Regions from separate parts of the Homo sapiens genome. Here region 2 is linked to region 1. Evidence: promoter capture Hi-C in 16 types of primary human blood cells and fetal thymus (Javierre and others, 2016). All regions are on one chromosome and are shown on one strand. The core of a region is centred on a gene start or on the middle of the fragment in contact, and the rest is flanking DNA. Distances in the headings are between cores, read along the strand shown. Region 1 holds the start of SEL1L (SEL1L adaptor subunit of SYVN1 ubiquitin ligase). Region 2 overlaps STON2 (stonin 2).

Region 1 (3,414 bases), core at 296-2,795:
AGACCTAAAACCCAATGTTTAACAAACCCATAAGAGGAATTCTGATGCAGGAGGTCCATGGTCCAGCAGGTACTCTACTCATTAAGCTCAACAGCTTCATTTCATGCTTTTTGATCAAATATTAAATAACTGCTAAAAGTGCTTCGAGAGTTAAGTATAGTCTAAAGATCTGGTCATTAACTCAAACCATCACTACTACTGGAGGGAGGGGAGTGGACCTGAAAGAATGATGTTGGCAGTAAAGTAATTAGCATAGGGTTGGTGCTTTTGAAATGGTATCTCAAACCACATCATGGATAGAATTTAGGTTTAAGCCTCTTATTTTAGAAGCAGAATGACGTTATGGCATTGATTTACAACTAGGACAGGTAATTTGGGGATTCAGATAACCATCTGGGAAATTTTCTGTTAAAAAAAAGCTGACATTTATTAAAAAAAGAAAAAGCTGACATTTATACTCCGTGTTGTCCCCCCAAAACGTCAAGCCACAGAACACCTGTCCTGTTAACTGAAACTGATTAAAATTCCAAAGTTTTACTGTACTAATTTTTATTTATCAACACTTAGAAACACGAAGTTTTCATGAACACTCTCAAAATGGAAATTTTCAAATGTAGGCAGATTAAAACATTAAAAAAGGGGGAAAAAAGCAGAACCAGAATAAACATTAGCTAACTGGAAAATCAATTCAAAAGCACACAAATTTCTGTATCTATATAAAACGCATCTTATAAGAACCAAGATTTTCCCAAACATCATAAAATGACTGTCAACAAACATGGGGCAACTCAGAAACACTGTGACAGGTCACCGCTTTCTCAGGAAGGTTTCAAAAAAGTAAAAAGTGGCTACGATGAGATCAAAAGTCTTCGTTTTTAAACAGACAGACCAGGGACCATCTCAGGTGTTAAGCAAACTACTGTCAACATCCTGGTCTGGATGGATCCTCCTCTGCCCCAAAGTGACAGCTCCAGGTTTGTCAATTATTTAACTTACAATTCCCAAGCCCAGAGTTCTAGACCAGACCCTTCCTCTACCCCAGGGTCGAGGAAGCTCCACTCGGGCTCCTGTATCAGGATTCATTCCTTTGGAGTCAATTCCGCGTTCGTGAGAAGAGTCGCGCAAAGTTTGTTACGTGGGAGAGAGGTGTGGGCAGGGTGACCGCCCCTTCTTTTTCCACCCCACTCCACCTTCCTAAATAGCCCCTTTGGCGCAGGCCAAGCAAAGCCAAAGAGCGAGTGACAGCCCAGTGCGAGATGTGCCCAGGGAGAACGGGGTCCCGAGCCTGGAGTCCCCACGGCCCCGCCGGCTGTAGAGGCTGGGGGGCGGAGGCTCTGGGCCTTCAGCCCGAGGGGGCGGATACTGACCCGAGGACGCCGAGGCCAAGCTCAGCAGCACCGCACACAGCAGCAGCGTCAGCCCTATCCGGACCCGCATCCTCCTCTCGGGGCCGGTGCCAACCCCTAGAGCTGTCGCCTTCGCCTCTGCCACCACGGACTCAGCCACCACCGCCGCCTCGCCGCTGCTCTTCCTGCTCTAGTCTCCTTCCTCCGCCCCTTCCCAGGCTTCCCTGACCCAGCGCGCAGCCAATCCCCGCCCGCCGTCGCGGGCTTCTGGTCCAATCACCATGGTCTCCCCGCCCACCCCCATTGCTCCGCCCCGGGGGTCATTCATTGGCCAATCATTGTACGAAGCTCCCACACCAGCTTTCTCGGTTGGACCACGACTCACGGACATGGCCCCAGCTAATTGGTAGCCCCTGGGTTCAACCGGAATCAGCGCGTGAGTCCAAGACTGGGAGAAAGAGGCTCATCCGAGACTACAATTCCCAGAATGCGCTTCATGTGATTAACTCGGGGGGTGCTCTTGGGAAACGTAGTCCATCGTAGGGCAAGATTTACAAGTGCGGGTGACTGTTGAAGTTAGAATTTAACTAACACCTGGGCTAAATATTAACTCAAGGCTATGGATTCACAAGCCTTTTTAAATTGACCCAAAATAAATATTAAGGAATAATTTTAAGAACTTGTAATGTGTTTAGCATCTTTTCCTGTTTTATTTAAAAAATTTAAATTGGGCATAGTGATAAGAGCACTGAGAAAAATGCCACAGCTAGTTGAATTTGAGGTGTTTTTTAAAACTTAGATAAAACAGTACCGTGAAGTACGGAAACCAGGGTGCAACTCAGTACCTGTCCTCCTTTCTCCGACAAAACAAAAGGAAATAAATCCGCTCGGCACAGATTATCTCAATACAGTATTTATTTTCACTAGGTTCACCAGACAATAATCATAAAGAAAATGTGCCAACAGCTTTGAAAAATTATTTTAAACACTTGTCCTCATCCTTCTCCTCTTGTGAGTTGCATTGTTCTCTTCTTTCCTAACTAAAGTCAGGAGACCAGGTTCACGTGTGTGGAGGTAGAGGTGATAGTGATTGCATCGCAGGCACGGAAATACTCTATGTAATAAGCACGAAATCCAGGCATGTTCCAACTGAGTAGCAGAGCAGTGACTTGGTGTGCCTGCCCTTTCTTTTCTCAAACCGTGTCATTCTGCTTTCCCTGTCATCCACCCACAGTCAGCTCTAAGGCCTAGAACCTAGTCCAGCCAAGTGAAGGACTTTGGAAAAGTCTCTGCTGGCCATGTGTCTTAACACTTCTGGGCATTTGTCTTCCTTCCTTTTTTTTTTTGTTTTTTGTTTTTTGTTTTTTGAGATACAGCCTTTTATTTTCAGGAAGATGGTAAAAAACCAACCACTGTTTCTCATTCACATCGGAGGAGATGAAGGAAAGAATTATCTCCTCCAAAAACTTGTCTTTTCAGCTACATCACCATTTCTGTCACTAACAATGTTCCCTCTGAGTTCCTCTGATTATAAATCATAGAGTAAAATCTGGTATATTTTCCTTTCTTTTTCATCTTATTGATAATCAAGTTCTATCAGTTTAAACTATGTAACTTTTAAATTGTTTTATTTTATTATGTACCTCTGTTCTCTTCCTCACTGAAAACTCCCCTAATGGCTTTCATTTTCTCTCACCTGGATGATGCACCTGAGTTCCAGCCATACTCACTGACATCATTCTCCCTTTAACCTGAATCACATATCATGGCCATATTAATTTTCCTTAAACACTGCTTTCATATGCCTATTGAAAATTTTCAATGGCTACACTTTTCACAGAATAAAAAAAATTAGAACTTATTCTACTCACAAAATAGGAACTGTGCTGACAGTTCTACTCTGTTGGGGAAGTACCAGGGAAGAAACTTCTGCCTTCTACAGAAGAGCCAGTGATTATCTGTTTGATTAAAACTGGGGAAAGTTTGCTGCTTAGTTAAGCCCCAACTTCTTTTTTCAGTTTTGTCTTTACTGAGTACGTCTTATATTTAAGGGTTGTTCTGGGTGCTG
Region 2 (3,414 bases), core at 662-3,161, 240 kb before region 1:
GCTTCCTCAAAGACTTTTTAAGAACATGTACTGTATAGCATAGGAATTTCTATGCTACTTCAAGAGCAGACTGTGGCAAATACACAAGTCAGCATGCATTTGATAAATGTTGATGGCAAATAAAGAACAAATACTCCCTAAAATATTTAGAGAGGAAGAATGTAACAATCCTATCTAAAACTTTCTTAAGATTTCTGATTAAGCTTGTGTAAGAGGAAATAAGCACATACCATCTTCAGCCACCTGGCAAAACTGAACCAAGGAAAAAGATCTTTATGGTATGAGTTTTTCTTTAAAGTATTTAATTTGGGGTTGGATTCTCTAACCCTACAGGGCCCTTGGGGACTTCCGGAGTGTGTCAGGCACTTTGGTGACTCCTGGAGTTGACTTCAGGTTTCAAGGCAGGAGAGGTAGCTGGAAGGACGGAAAGATAAAAATCTACCACCGCTGCCTCCAAGACAAGTAGTGGCCTGGCTGACCCTCACCAACCAGGTACTGTATGCCAGCTGGTCTGTCTAGAGCTATACCAAAATGATCTCATTTGATCTAGGAGACATCTGTATGAGGTAAGTCTCCATTACCTCTATTTTAGTAAGGGGGGACACTAAGGCACAGAGGTTAGGTGACATGGCCAAAGTTACAAAGCTAGTAAGAGGAAGAGCTAGGATCTGAACCCAAGAGGTCTGAGTTGGCAACCCTTAGTCTTAACCACTCTGGTATACTGCAGCATTTGGACTGTAGCTCTACATTGTTAGAACTGTCCAATCTTGAGCAAATTTCTCAATTTCTGAGTCTGTTTCCTCACTTTTAAGGAGGATAATGATATTTCCTATGCCCCACAATATGGTTGTGAGGACCAAATAAGACATGTGAATGCTACTGTAAAATATGGCATGCTATATGATTTAAATTATTTTCATTATTACTGGTAAAAAATGACAAGGAGCACTTATTCATTCATTTTGAGGTTTGAGGTTTGTTTTGCTTCGTATAGTATAAAACTTTCTAACTTTAATAATCAATAGAAAGTAATAAAAATAACTGGCCAGCTGGGCACAGTGGCTCACGCCTGTAATCCCAGCACTTCGGGAGGCCGAGACGGGCAGATCACCTGAGGTCAGGAGTTTGAGACCAGCCTGACCAACATGGAGAAACCCCATTTCTACTAAAAATACAAAATTAGATGGGTTTGGGGCGCATGCCTGTACTCCCAGCTACTCGGGAGGCTGAGGCAGGAGAATCGCTTGAACCTGGGAGGCAGAGGTTGTGGTGAGCCAAGATGGCGCCATTGCACTCCAGCCTGGGCAACAAGAGCAAAACTCTGTCTCAAAAGAAAAATAATAATAACTGATATTTATTGCCATGCACATTAAGTACTGAGAAAGAGGAGAAAACATTCCTTCTATCAGGAATCTGTAATTAGAAAGAAAAAAAGGAGTCAAATAGAGCTCCTTGTGGGGGCTCTATAATTCCAGCGATGAAGCCTATTCTAGATGCGGGTGCCCTTCCAGGAAGGAGAAATGAGCTATCAAGAAATTGTGAATCTCCAGATAATGACTTCCTGTTCCACAAAAACAAAGCACAGCAGCTGGAAATAACAGTCTATCTCCAATCCCTATTCCACATCCTAGGGCTGTCATCCACAGACTAGTCTGAGGGAGGCTTCCTCTAGCTCCAGGCCTCTAAAGCCTCAACTGCTTCAGATGGGGGGGGGGAATCACAGAATTTAAAAGCCAAACTTACTAAGAATTACCCCTGAGCAAAGTCACCCTGGACTCAGACTCCATCTGTTGCAAGTCATTAAATTCCCAAGCGCGGCTGAAATCCCTGATCTATATACCTCTGTCATGACACACACAATCTGTTGGTGTTTATTTTCCTGCTCTGGTAAGTTCCCAAGGAAGAGAAACTACAGAAAAGCATGTTGAACAGAACCATGCTAGGAGTTTCATCCAGGAAACTGAAGTTGGGACAGATGAAAAAATGAGCACCTTCTAAAATTAAATGATTAAAGGATCAACAGAGAAATCCTTAGTCACCCACCACGAAATGGTTTGTGAATATGTTGCTCTCAGAGATTTAAGAAACACCCATATCCAAGCAAGGTGAGTTGGATATAATTTTAGAAAGACTTGGTAGAAATGTGTTTGAAGTGTATTAATCTGTAATCTAATTAATTATATAGAATTTTAAAACTTTTTAAAACACAATTCATCCATGTCACTAAAGAAATTTAGAAAATACAGACAAGAGAACGACATAAAAAGTACCCAAAGTCCCACCTCTACCACCAAAATAAGAGACATCTGTTTTGTTAAGAAGGTTGATAAAGGAAAAACTGAAAATAGCAACAGCCCAAAACACTCATAAGTTCTAGCCACATGGCTCAGATCAAGTGACACCAAACTGTATTTGGTACTAGAATCATGGTGGTCACTTTAAACCACATGCCTGGGCTTGTCTTAGGCAACTCTTCTGCATCCACCAGGAATATTGCAGAAGTTACCCATACATGCACAGAATTAACGTGTTATACAAACATATATGTGAGACTATCTCAATAAAGGTAGAAAAAGTATGGTAAAATTTAACTTACATTAACTGTAATAGTAATACTATTATCACCATACTAAGAATGGAAGGGAACTTCCTCAACCTGATAAAGGGCATATACAAAAAGAAAACCCTCAGCTAACATCACAATGGTGAAATATTGAAAGTGTTCCTCCCAGTCTCACCTATTCAGCGTTGTAATGGAGTCCTTAGGCATTGCAACAAGGCAAGAAAAAGGAATAAAAAGTAAAAGAAAGAGGTTGAGCCCTGTGGCTAACTTATGAGCATTTTGGGCTGTTGCTGTTTTCAGTTTTTCCTTTATCAACCTTCTTAACAAAAGTAAAAATAATTGTAAAACTGAATACAGCAAGTCCTCAGGATACAAAGTCATTCTTTAAAAACTCAATTATATATTAAAATACTAGTAACAAGTCAACTGGAAATAAGACCTCTAAAAATATTGTTTACTATAGCATAAAAATATCAACTACATAGAAGTAAACTTAATAAAAGATGTGTAAGGCCTCTTCACTGTTGAGAGAAGTTAAAGAAGGCCTAAATAAATGGAGAGATTTCATGTTCATGGATTTGAAAACTCAAAATTGTTAAGATGGAAAAAAAATTTTTTTTTTTTTTAAATTGATCTATAGAATCAATATGATTCCAATAAAAACTCCCAGGCTTAAAAAAATTTTTTTGATAGTTGGTCAATTTCTATCAAAGCCTATCAATCACCAAGACAATCTCAAAGAAGAAAAATGTTGTAGGACTCAAAACTACCAAATTTCAAGATTGACTATAAAGTTTCAGTAATTAAGACAATCTCATAGGAAAGATAAATAAGTTAATGGAACAAAATGA

The links. Contacts are between HindIII fragments. The CHiCAGO score rates a contact against its expected background, and 5 or more counts as called.
Region 2: a fragment that was not itself captured here is called in contact with the fragment with the promoter of SEL1L in region 1 in 1 of 17 cell types (monocytes); the score reaches 5.9 in monocytes.

What each region holds. Positions count from the first base shown.
Region 1 is chr14:81,532,308-81,535,721 of GRCh38, forward strand. SEL1L (SEL1L adaptor subunit of SYVN1 ubiquitin ligase) reads right to left here and starts at 1,546. Exons shown (of 21, transcript NM_005065.6): 1 at 1,368-1,546. The coding sequence starts at 1,437. RefSeq lists an enhancer at 1,334-1,833 and a silencer at 1,550-1,669. The HindIII fragment of the contact is 11,079 bases long and covers 1-3,414 here.
Region 2 is chr14:81,296,710-81,300,123 of GRCh38, forward strand. The region is part of intron 5 of STON2 (stonin 2); the gene reads right to left. Among named protein-coding and RNA genes, the nearest start is that of GTF2A1-AS1, 77 kb to the left of the region's middle. The HindIII fragment of the contact is 3,420 bases long and covers 202-3,414 here.